Regions from separate parts of the Homo sapiens genome. Here region 1 is linked to region 2. Evidence: promoter capture Hi-C in 16 types of primary human blood cells and fetal thymus (Javierre and others, 2016). All regions are on one chromosome and are shown on one strand. The core of a region is centred on a gene start or on the middle of the fragment in contact, and the rest is flanking DNA. Distances in the headings are between cores, read along the strand shown. Region 1 overlaps C1orf174 (chromosome 1 open reading frame 174). Region 2 holds the start of CEP104 (centrosomal protein 104).

The links. Contacts are between HindIII fragments. The CHiCAGO score rates a contact against its expected background, and 5 or more counts as called.
Region 1: a contact is called between a fragment that was not itself captured here and the fragment with the promoter of CEP104 in region 2, in 1 of 17 cell types (megakaryocytes). The highest score is 5.8, in megakaryocytes.

Annotation. Positions count from the first base shown.
Region 1 is chr1:3,893,164-3,898,636 of GRCh38, forward strand. The region is part of intron 1 of C1orf174 (chromosome 1 open reading frame 174); the gene reads right to left. Among named protein-coding and RNA genes, the nearest start is that of C1orf174, 4.4 kb to the right of the region's middle. The HindIII fragment of the contact is 8,006 bases long and covers 1-5,473 here.
Region 2 is chr1:3,854,625-3,860,692 of GRCh38, forward strand. It overlaps CEP104 (centrosomal protein 104), which reads right to left and starts at 2,587. Exons shown (of 22, transcript NM_014704.4): 1 at 2,265-2,587. DFFB (DNA fragmentation factor subunit beta) reads left to right here and starts at 2,852. Exons shown (of 7, transcript NM_004402.4): 1 at 2,852-3,093; 2 at 4,094-4,220. The coding sequence starts at 2,980. RefSeq lists silencers at 2,254-2,753, 3,684-3,733 and an enhancer at 2,894-3,073. The HindIII fragment of the contact is 29,508 bases long and covers 1-6,068 here.

The sequences.
Region 1 (5,473 bases), core at 556-3,055, 38 kb after region 2:
TGTGCCTGGATTTAGGATACAGGATCTACTATTTCCACGATTTTGGAGGCTTGGGACGATCTGTCCCCCTTATCTTGTATATTTCTAGTAGCCACCATTTGTCCTTTAGTGGAAATTAAGTCAACTTCAAAGTGTTTAGAATAAGCAGCACATGCCCTTCCTTAGAAGGCTCTCCAACTTTCATACGTTGTCAAAGTTTTTAAAAAAAGGTAACATGAGGAAACCAAAGTTTCTCTTCCTCAAATTAGACTCCTATTCTATTAGCTGAATGCAGCTAGCGACTGTCTCACAAATTTTAATATTAACAAACTGGTCCACCTCTCTTTTATCCTGAATGCAAAGCAAACTCCTCTAATAACAAGAAAGAAATTAATTAAAGACATAACATTTAAAATAACTATTTAGGAATAATTTTCGGCATTCAGAAAGTTGCAAAAAATAGTACAAAGAAACTGGTGTGATAGCTCACACCTGTAATCCCAGCTACTTGGGAAGCTGAGGTAGGAGGATCGCTCGAGCCCAGGAGTTCAAGACCAGCCTGGGCAATACAGCGAAAGCCCATCTTTAAAAAATTTTTTTAAAAATTAGCCAGGTGTGGTGGTGTGCACCTGTAGTCCCAGCTATGTGGGAGGCTGAGGTGAGAGGATCACTTGATCCCAGGAGTCTGAGGCTGTAGTGAGCTATGACTGCACCACTGCACTCCACCTGGGTGACAGAGTGAGACAGTGTCTCTGAAAAAATAATAATAATAAAATAGTACAGGGAGTTGCCATGTAGCCTTCACTCAGCTTCCACTAATGTTAAACAACTACAGGACATTGTCAACATTAAGAAATTAGTGACATTACGGTACTCTTCACTAAACTATAGATTTTATTTGTATTTTATCGGTTTCTCCATGAACCGTTTTTCTGTTCCAGAATCCAGTCCACAATACCACACTGCACTTAGAAAACTCGAAAGGAATGAGTGTGAGTAGTAGAAGCAACAAACAGGAGCAATGCAGGTTGACATGGCCGGGAAAGGCCCAAGAGCTGCTGCCAACAGGCCCTAGAACTGGAACCCAGAAGGGGACGGATGAAGAGTGCCCTGCCCAACAGCAGATAAGAGAAATAAAAAAAGGAAAAAAACAAAAAAATAAAACACAGAAATAATCTGTCTCGGCTGGGCGCGGTGGCTCACGGCTGTAATCCCAGCACTTTGGGAGGCTGAGGCAGGTGGATCACAAGGTCAGGAGATCGAGACCATCCCGGCTAACACAGTGAAACCCCGTCTCTACTAAAAATACAAAAAATTAGCCGGGCGTGGTGGTGGGCGCCTGTAGTCCCAGCTACTTGGGAGGCTGAGGCAGGAGAATGGCGTGAACCCAGGAGGCGGAGCTTGCAGTGAGCCGAGATTGCGCCACCGCACTCCAGCCTGGGTGACAGAGCAAGACTCCGTCTCAAAAAAAAAAAAAAAAAGAAATAATCTGTCTCAGCCATGCACCCCGTAGCCCAAGACAGCTCCAGAAACCCTGTGGGGTGGCAGCTCCAAGGTCCTGTGATACTGTGGCAGTCAGAGTGTGTGTCTGAAACAGGAGGGAGAAGAGCAGGCAGCAGCCCACCGGAGGCCAGGACGCCCGCCTGCTGTACACAGGACACGCCAGTTGCCCACAGGCTGGGTGAAGTGCCTGCTACCACAGCACACCGGGGGCTGCGCCTCCGTCCTCTCACAAGGGCAGGGCTTTGCTGAGAGCCCCGGCAGACGTCATGGTCACAGTTACACCAAGGGGACTGAGGCAACAGAGGTTACAGAACTTGCTAAGAGTTGCCATAAACATCTCTCATCAAAATCCTCCCACTGGGTCTTAAACAAGCCCATCTCCCTAAAACGCCATCACGTGCCTCGTAGGGAAAAGACATCTCTGACCTAGAAAGCCACTGCCCCACCTCTCCTCCCTGCTGTGAGCCCTCCTCCGGGCGCTTTGCTGCTCTGTGCTGGAGTATGCTGTGTGGGGAGCCCAGCTCGGTGCCTGAACAGCTTTAAAGGAGTGGCACACCCATTTCAGATGAGGACAACTTGGGTAAGGAGCTTATGAGGTTATACGAGTGATGCCTGGCTTCCAAATCTCTATTCCATCACCACAGCTCACCCTAGATATGACCCCCAACAACTGCCTGAGGTGGGGATTGAACTGAAGAAGCTGCCACCCGCTCTGTGTTCTACGCCTGCACGTCTTTTCCCGCAGCAGGTGCTTCTCAAGGCTTCTGTCAGCATCTTGGCAGCAGTGGTTCTGAACTTTTCGCGTGCAACAGGTTCATCAGGTGGACCTTTTGGCCCCTTCTGCAGAGAAAAGCCAGATGATCTGCTGGGCTGGAAGCGCTGGCTGTTAACAGACACCTGAGGATCTGGTGGGCCTGGAAGCGCTGGCTGTTAACAGACACCTGAGCAGGCCATTTGCTGTCCTCTCCGGATTGACAGGAGTCAAAACATGAGATCGGCTTAGCTTCAGTTTCGTCATGGATTAACCACCTCCAAGGTGTCAACTCCAAAATGTCAAGAATTGGTCACAGTCTCACTTGCAGATTCCTGCTCTGCAGCTGGGCAGCTTGGACTGCTCCCACAGTCCAAAAAAGGAAAGACTTTCTCATCATTGAGATTCTCCTCATTCCAGTAGATTGTTTAATAACTGGTATGTCAGAAGCACAAACATGGTTTCTCCAAAAGGGCTGGCCGAGACTGACTTCAACATGATGGCTCGAGGAGCTTCACTGACCTTCTCAGAGAGTAATGAGCAGTCCCAAAACAGCCATTTAGAGAGCCTTTGGAAATGGTCCTATGGGCACCCAGCAAATGAAGAAACACTTGCTCCAGAACACCTACATACATTTGGTAAGGACACGGAGAGTCTGTGGCACTTGAGCTCCATCCTGCTGCAGCCAAGAACACAGGGCCACCTCCCCAGCTCCCAGGCAGCGGGGTGTCTTCCCAGGAGAGGCAGGATAGCAGTGCTTCCCTTTCTGCTCTCATCCCACCTGTGACTGAGACCAGGTCCTGAGTGAGTAGGATTGAGAAGAGGGGCCCTCCTTTCTGCTCAGACCCTATTTGTAGAATGAAGGCTTCACCTTGGCTCCATTCTACCAGTACGGTTTAAGCCTCTGCAAGAGGCTCCGCCCAGTGAACGGAGAAGACTGGGGCCCCATCAACCCCGTCCTAGATATGAGGTGGTTCCAGGCTGGGGAAGACACATTTGGAGGATCTCAGGCTGCTGCTAGCTCCCCCAGCCCCTATTCAGAGAGGAGCCCATTACTGTCCTCAGCTGCAGGCCCTGGCTCAGAGGCTCTGCCTGGGATGAGAGGCAGGCAACTAAACAGACAGCTCTTACACCTGCCCAAAGGCACCAAATTCCCTGCCATGGAATGTGGAGAAGTTCCGGCCTAAGGGAGCTGTTCAAGTACCGTGGATGCTGTGACGAAGGGGGTGGAGGCAGTGGAGAATCAAGCAATAGGCCAAATTGTAGGCCAACCAGTTCGCAGAAGAGAACCAGAGACTAACACGGCTGGGAGGAGGCCTCTTGGACACAGAACAAACTAACCAAACACTGACCTTAGAAAGTATCCCTTCGAAGAAGCCACAATTTGATTGGATTAGTTTGTAGAGCAACTTATGCCCAGGCTGTTGCTGAGAACAGCACAATAACCTGGCATTAGCGAAGTTCAACAGCTGGATGTGGTCAGGGAAAGAGGAAAAGGACCTCACTAAAACCACTGTCATCCAGAGTGGCTGGGTGCCACCCCCCACCAGCAACATCACAGGCTGAACACTGTGGCAGGGGAAATATACTTTATCAAAACAATCTACCCAGTTGCTAAACAAATAAGCATATTAACAATGACAAGCCCCAGGGTTGGGGACAGTACCCAGAATTGCTAAAATGTATTATCTAAAATGTCAAAAAAATTATGAAGGCATAATTCCAACAAAAAATTATGAAGCACTCAAAGAAAAAGAAAAGTAGGCTCATACACTGGAATAAAAGCAGGCCACAGAAGCTGTCTGTGAGAGTGACCAGATGTTGGATTTATACATATATAAAGGACCAAGGTAGCCATGATAAACAATATCAAGATCATGAATAAAGAAGAAACATAAGATAATGCTGCATCAAAGAGACTATCAATAAAGATAAATTACTTAAAAACCAAATGGAAATTCTGGAGTAGAAAAGTACAAAACCTGAAATAACAAAATTCACTAGAAGGGCTTAATAGTAGAACTGAACTGGCAGGATAAGCAAACTTGAAGACAGATCGATAGATTATGCATGCTGAAGAACACAGAGAAAAAAAGAACGAAGAAAAATAAAGCAAGCTGCAGAGAAATGCTGGACATCATTAAGTGCACTAACATACACAAAATAAGAACCACCAGGAATGCAGAGAGAAAGGAGCAGAAAAAATATTTGAAGAAATAATGGCTGAGAACTTCTCAAATTTACAGAAAAACATTAACCTATATATCCAGGAATCTTTTTTTTTTGAGACGGAGTCTCACTCTATCGCCCAGGCTGGAGTACAGTGGCATAATCTTGGCTCACTGCAAGCTCCGCCCCCCAGGTTCATGCCATTCTCCCGCCTCAGCCTCCCAAGTAGCTGGAACTACAGGCGCCCGCCACCACGCCCCGCTAATTTTTTGTATTTTTAGTAGAGATAGGGTTTCACTGTGTTAGCCAGGATGGTATCAATCTCCTGACCTTGTGATCCGCCTGCCTCAGCCTCCCAAAGTGCTGGGATTACAGGCGTGAGCCACCGTGCCTGGCCCCATATCCAGGAATCTTAATGAACAGAACTCCAAATAGGATACATGCAAAGAGATCCACAGACACATCACTGTAAAAATACAAAGATCAAAGGCAAAATCTTGAAAGAGAACAAAACCTTGAAAGCCCCAAGAAGAAAGCCACTTAGAAGGGAACCTCAATAAATGAACTGACTGAAACAATGGAGAATATTCAAACATATTCAACATGCTCAAATAAACTTGTCAACCAAGAATCCTATATCCAGCAAAGCTATACTTCAAAAATGGGCTGGGCATGGTGGCTCATGCCTGTAATCCCACCACTTTGGGAGGCTGAGGCAGTGATCACCTGAGGTCAGGAGTTTTAGACCAGCCTCGCCAACATGGTGAAAACCTGTCTCCAGTAAAAACACAAAAATTAGCCGGGCGTAGTGGCAGCCTCCTGTAATCCCAGCCATTCCAGAGGCTGAGGTGAGAATCACTTGAACCCGGGAGGCAGAGGTTGCAGTGGGCCGAGATCACACCTCTGCACTCCAGCCTGGGCAACAGAGTGAGACTCTGGTCTCAAAGCAAAAACAACAACAACAACAACAACAACAACAACAACAACAAAACTCACTTTACAAGAAACACTAAAAGAAGTTCATCAGGCTGAAAGCAAGTGACCCCAGACAGTAATTCAAAACCACACACA
Region 2 (6,068 bases), core at 1,337-3,836:
TGCCTGGCTAATTTTTTTTTTTTTTTTTTTTTGGTATTTTAGTAGAGACGGGGTTTTGCCATGTTGGCCAGGCTGGTCTCGAACTCCTGGCCAATCTGCCCGCCTTGGCCTCCCAAAGTGCTGGGATTACAGGCATAAGCCACCATGCCAGGCCCCTTTCATCATCTTTCAGGGCAGGGCTTGTCACTCCCTATTCCACCTTGAAAATACCTCTTGTGCCCAGGCTGTTGGGTTCCAGTCTCCAAATTTTTTTTTTTTTTTTTTTGAGAGAGGGTCTCACTCTGTCACCCAGGCTGGAGTGCAGTGGCGTGATCGCGGCTCACTGCGACCTCTGCCTCCTGGGTTCAAGTGATTCTCCCGCCTCAGCCTCCCAAGTAGCTAGTATTACAGGTGCGCACCACCACACCCAGCTAATTTTTGTATTTTTAGTAGAGATGGGGTTTCACCATGTTGGCCAGGCTGGTCTCGAACTCCTGACCTTAGGTGATCCACCCGCCTCAGCCTCCCAAAGTGTTGGGATTACAGGCGTGGCCAATAAGCCCAGCCCCGATTTTTTTTTTTTTTTTTTTTTTAATACAGGTTCTCGCTCTGTTGCCCAGGCTGTACTGCTGCAGTGGCGTGATCATAGCTCACTGTAACCATGAACTCTCGGGCTCAAATGATCCTCTTGTCTCAGCCTCCTGAGCAGCTAGGACTACAGGCACATGCCACCATGCACAGCTACTTTTTTTTTTTTTTTTTGTAGGGATGGGGTTTCACTGTGTTGTCTAGGCTGGTCTTGAACTCCTCCCACCTTAGTGTCCCAAAGTGTTGGGATTACAGGCGTGAGCCGCCGAGCCTGGCTAGTCTCTGAACCTAACCAACACTCTCTGTTACGGCTCGAAGACATAAATATAGGACCTTTTCAGTCAAACAGAAGGGTGTTTCCAGTATGCTATACTGCCCCCAACAAATCTAAAACAAAGTACTGGCATTTAAGAACCAGCTAAGAGAAATGCACAGGGACTGTGGAGGCAATGCTATTACCTCAGTCTGGTATTTGAAAAGGATTCCTTTTTTAGTCTACCCCCTCCCAAAGACCTTCCAGTTGTACCCTAGGGTCCCCTCTGTGTAAACCTTCAAGTGTTACATAAGATACTTGGAATGTCACTGAAGGATGCCACTTTTAGGCTCTATAAAAATCACCATTAACAATTTGGGAAGAAGCAAAGCTCTGTTGAACATCCAGTTATTGGCTGGTCTTCCTCACCAGAGGCATGAGGGATCCCTGTTGTCCCAGGGGCAGCCATCGACATCCCGACAAATGCCAGAGTACATCTCTCCCCAGGCAGCGATGACTCCATGGCGGTCTCATCCCTCACTACACTTTTCCTAGTGCTGGCATGGTAAAAGGCAATTAACTATAAATTAAACGGAAACTCAGTGTAGCAACTTCCATTTTGTTACAAGACTAGGAAACAAAACTTGTCTCTGATTTTCTTTTTAAGAAGACTTTTAAGTGTGACTGCGCGCGGTGGCTCATGCCTGTAATCCCAGCACTTCGGGAGGCCGAGGAGGGCGTATTACTTGAGGTCAGGAGTTCGAGACCAGCCTGGCCAACATGGTGAAACCCCGTCTCTACTAAAAATAAAAAAATTAGTCGGGCTACTCGGGAGGCTGAGGCAGGAGAATCGCTTGAACCCGGGAGGCGGAGGCTGCAGTGAGCTGAGATCGTGCCATTGCACTCCAGCCTGGGCGACAGAGCGAGACCGTCTCAAAGGCTTATGGGTTTCTGATCAAGTCATCTTAGCGACTGAAAGGGCTTCAGAGAAATCTGAACTTAAGTGCAAACAAAACAAAACAAACTCCAAAACAAAAAACAACCAACCATCAGACTTTAATCTCTATAGGGACAGAGCAATTTTCCTCAAACTTTTGCTCAGCAGAACACATCTGAAACTGGCCCCCTATGTGCTACGCATCCAGAAGAGGAAAAGCCGGATCTGAAAACAATATTCCACGCTAAATGGGCCGTCCCGGCCGGGGCAGGCGGTCCCAGCACCCGTGCTGAGCTCCCCGGCATACGGCACGACGGGGCCGCGCCGGCTCTTCGGCGACAGCAAGGCCGGCATCTAACTCCACACCGTCCGCGCTTGCACCGCGCACCCAGGCTTCGTACCCAGCTCCCAGGTGGGGACCGCGCCCCCGCGGCGCCCGCGCCCCGCGCCCCGCGCCCCGCTCCCCACTCCGGCCCTGGGCCGGCGCCGCAGCGGCCCGGAAGGTACCTGCTTAGAGGGAAGGGCCCCGACTGGCGCTGCCGCGGCCCCGGTGGAGAGGGCGGCTGGGTCGGAGCGGTGCCGCGGCCCGGGGAGGCGGCCAGGCGGCGCCTCAGCACCCGGACCCCAGGGGCGTGCGGGACCCGGCTCTCGTGGACTTCCTCGGCAGCCGCCGCTTCCTCAGACGGAACTCGGGGGGCGCCCCTTCCGCCGCCCCAGGCCGCCTTGCACCCCAAGCTGCTGCGGCAGTGACAGGGAAGAAGCAGACCCGGCCACCTCTGCCCATAGCCCCGGCCGCAGCCTCCACTCTCATGACAACCAAGCCCAGCCCTGGGCCAGGGCCTCTGCGCGTGCGCGACCCCGCCCCACCCCAGGCCGCGCCTGCGCACAAGGGGAGGGCTCCGCTACTCTGGCCCTCAGGGTTGTGTAGTTTCCGGGGCCACGGCACCTGGGCACACCAGGTGGCGTCGCGCCTTTGCTTTCCTGAGCCTTCTGAGTAAGGTAATGTGGTGTCCGTGGGGCGACGCCTGCGCACAAGACCGCGTCGGGCCTCACTTTTCCCAGGCCTTCTGGGTAATGTAGTTTCCGGGATCGGCACCCGGCCTGTGCCAGCTTGCAGAGCTCACCAGGTGCAGACCCCTGCGGCCAGGGCGAGGACGGATCTGAGCAGCTGGGCAGCAGGTGCCACCGCCTGTGGGACCCAGAGGGCTTGAGGACATCTGCAATGCTCCAGAAGCCCAAGAGCGTGAAGCTGCGGGCCCTGCGCAGCCCGAGGAAGTTCGGCGTGGCTGGCCGGAGCTGCCAGGAGGTGCTGCGCAAGGGCTGTCTCCGCTTCCAGGTGCCCGCTGGGCTAGGCGGGGACGGCCCGTCGGGGAGGCGTGTGGGGAGAATAGGAGGTGCCGCTTTTCCTCTTCCAAAACGGAGGGTGCAGGCGGCGCCCGGGGCGGGTAGTTTTCGTTCGCCTCAGCCGCTAGGACCCCGGGCCCCCGCAGCCTGGGGTTCCTGAGCGTGGCTTCAGAACGCAGGGGGGTTGGGGGACGACCTGGATCACCCCTTCCCTCTTCCCACCTCTCGGGCAGGACAGCCCTGCATCAGAGCTAGGAGACCCGGGTAGAGTGCCAGGTACTGGCACGCGGGGTCACGGCTGCTCTGCCTGTCCGGCCTCAGCTTCCCCTTGAGTAACATGAAAGGCTTGGCTAGGTGGGCTCTGCAGGCCCCTTCCAGCCCTCGCAGCTGGGGATTGCAATCGTCACCTTATTCTAGGTTGGTTTTCTTTTTAGACCAGTACTAGGGTTACCAGGTGTGCATTGCCGGGGTCGGTGCGGGTGGGGTGGGAGTAGCCATAAAATGCCTAAAACTGACCAGTGCAGAGTAACAGGGAACCGGACTCCAACAAATTAACAGTGCCACGTGCCGGTCACACTTGTGCACAGAGGCAACCAACCGTTCTCCTTCGTGTGCCAGCACCGCTCTGGCGGCTGTGTGCTGGGGATGGTGGTGTTCAGCTCCTGGCAGCAGGGAGGCGGCGCTGTCAAAGACAGGCTCTATTTGAAGCGCCCTCAGGAGCTCATTTAAAAAGGGTGAATCCTGCAGAGCCAGCAGTCACCCCCTGATGTATGTTTTTCCTGACTCTTCGTATTTTAGAACGGCCCGCAGTCAGGCGCCCTTGCTCCCGCTCCCTCATCCTTGCCTGGGCGTTGGAGCGACTGTGGCATACAGGCGGCAGCCTGAGCCTGCTTCTTTAAGCACAGCTCATTCCGGTCGTTTGTGAGGCCTGCAGATGCAAAGCCCTCGTCTTGAGACCCTTCCTCCTCCTGTTGCTTCTCCCGTCCCTGCAGCTCCCTGAGCGCGGTTCCCGGCTGTGCCTGTACGAGGATGGCACGGAGCTGACGGAAGATTACTTCCCCAGTGTTCCCGACAACGCCGAGCTGGTGCTGCTCACCTTGGGCCAGGCCTGGCAGGGCTGTGAGTGGCAAGGACTTTGGAGGTGGGCGGGAAGCTGGCACTCTCCGAGGTCCTGGGGGCTTAGCTCCAGGTGCCCATCAGGGTGGGGAAGAGTCCCCCTTACTGTGAACTCTCGGGTCTCAAGGAGGAAGCCCTCTGGAGGCAGAACTGGTCAGCGTCGCTTAGGTGGCAGAGTCCTCAGTCCTCTCGTTCATGAACCCAGCTGTTCAATTGGTCGTCTTTTTCTTCAAAAAATCTTTTAATTTTATTTGCGTTCATTTGAGGTGTCCTAGCAATTCCCAAGAGCAGAGGGAGGGCTTTGGGGTTGGGGCCTGCACAGTTTCATGGGGAAGGTGGAGCCAGGAAGAGATGCTGTTCTGTTCTGCTGGGCTGAGCACCCTTCTGGAAGGACGAGGTGGTGGTTCGTGGGATGCTCTCACATTGTTCTCGGTTGGTGTTTGCTAAGATGCTGTCCTCAGGGCTCAAGTTTGGGGGCAATTGCTTTGAGAGGTGGTTCTTTCGGGGCATCTGTATTGAAGCCTCAGGACACAAAGTCCTGCCTTTCAGAACCAGCCGAATGCCAAGGTCTGCGCTTGTTTGACTCCCGTAAAAGAGAGCTTTTGGCCACTGGGGCAGGAGATGCCATCATGTGCCTTTACCTGGGAGGGTCGGCCAGTGTTGTGCAAATGGGGTCAGGCTCCAGGAGATGCTTCTGGCAGCCCAGGAAGGACATGGGTGCTCTGAGGGATGGAGCTGTGGCTCCTTGGCCTAAGGGGCAAAAAGAGAGAAGTCGAAGAGTAACATCCATGTGGCCACCTCCCCGGCTACAGTGTTGGGGGCTCCACTGTCAGCATTGAGGGGTGACGCCTCTGGTGTGTGCTCCAAGGTTGCAAACCCCCTTTCTCCACTGGGCCTTGTGCTTTTAGAGGAGGCAGCTGGAAAATGTATCACTGTGATGCCCCCTGGGGTGGCCCCTGCAGGAGGTGGGGGCTGGGCAGGGGTATGCTCAGGGTATGCCTCACCTTTGGATGTTATCTTTCTTTCCCATTTCAGGGCATAGTTGAAAGACAGCAGAGCACGTTGCTCTCTCTCTGTCTCTCCCTGCATCTCGCAGTCTCTGTCTCTCTCCTCTGTCTCTGTCTCTGGCTCTCTCTGTCTGTCTCTGTCTCTCTCTCTCTCTGTCCTTCCTTTCTCTGGCGCTTTATCCTCCTCTCTTCGCTGAGACCGCTAGTCCTCCTCCTTGTTAGACTTAAAAAAAATTTTTTTTCTTTTCTTTTATGAAAACATTGAGATGGGGTCTCCCTCTGTTGCACAGGCTGGCCTCAAACTCCTGGGCTCAAGAAGTCCTCCTACTTTGGCTTCCCAAAGTGCTGGGATTACAGGCATGAGCCACTGTGCCTGGCCAAAATATTTTTGTTTTATTTATATTTTGAAACTTTGTTGCCCAGGCTGGAGTGCAGTGGCACAAACCTTGCTCACTGTAGCCTCGACCTCCGTGTTTCAAGTGATCCCGTTGCCTCAGCCTCCCAAGTATCTGGGACCACAGGCATGCATTACCACGTCTGGCTAATTGTTTTGTATTTTTTGTAGAGATAGGGTTTCGCCATGTTTCCCAGGATAGTCTCACACTCCTGGGCTCAAGCTGTCCTCCTGCCTTGGTCTCCTAAAGTGCTGGGATTACAGGTATGAGCCACTGTGCCTGGCCTAAACCGTTTATTTAGAAATAATGACAGATTCCCAGGAAGTTGCACAGATAGGAAGGTCCAATGTACCTCTACCCTTTCCCTCAAAGGCAACATCAGATACAACCGTGGTACAATATAAAACAGGAACACCGACACTAGTGCAATGTGCATGTTGTTCTGTCAT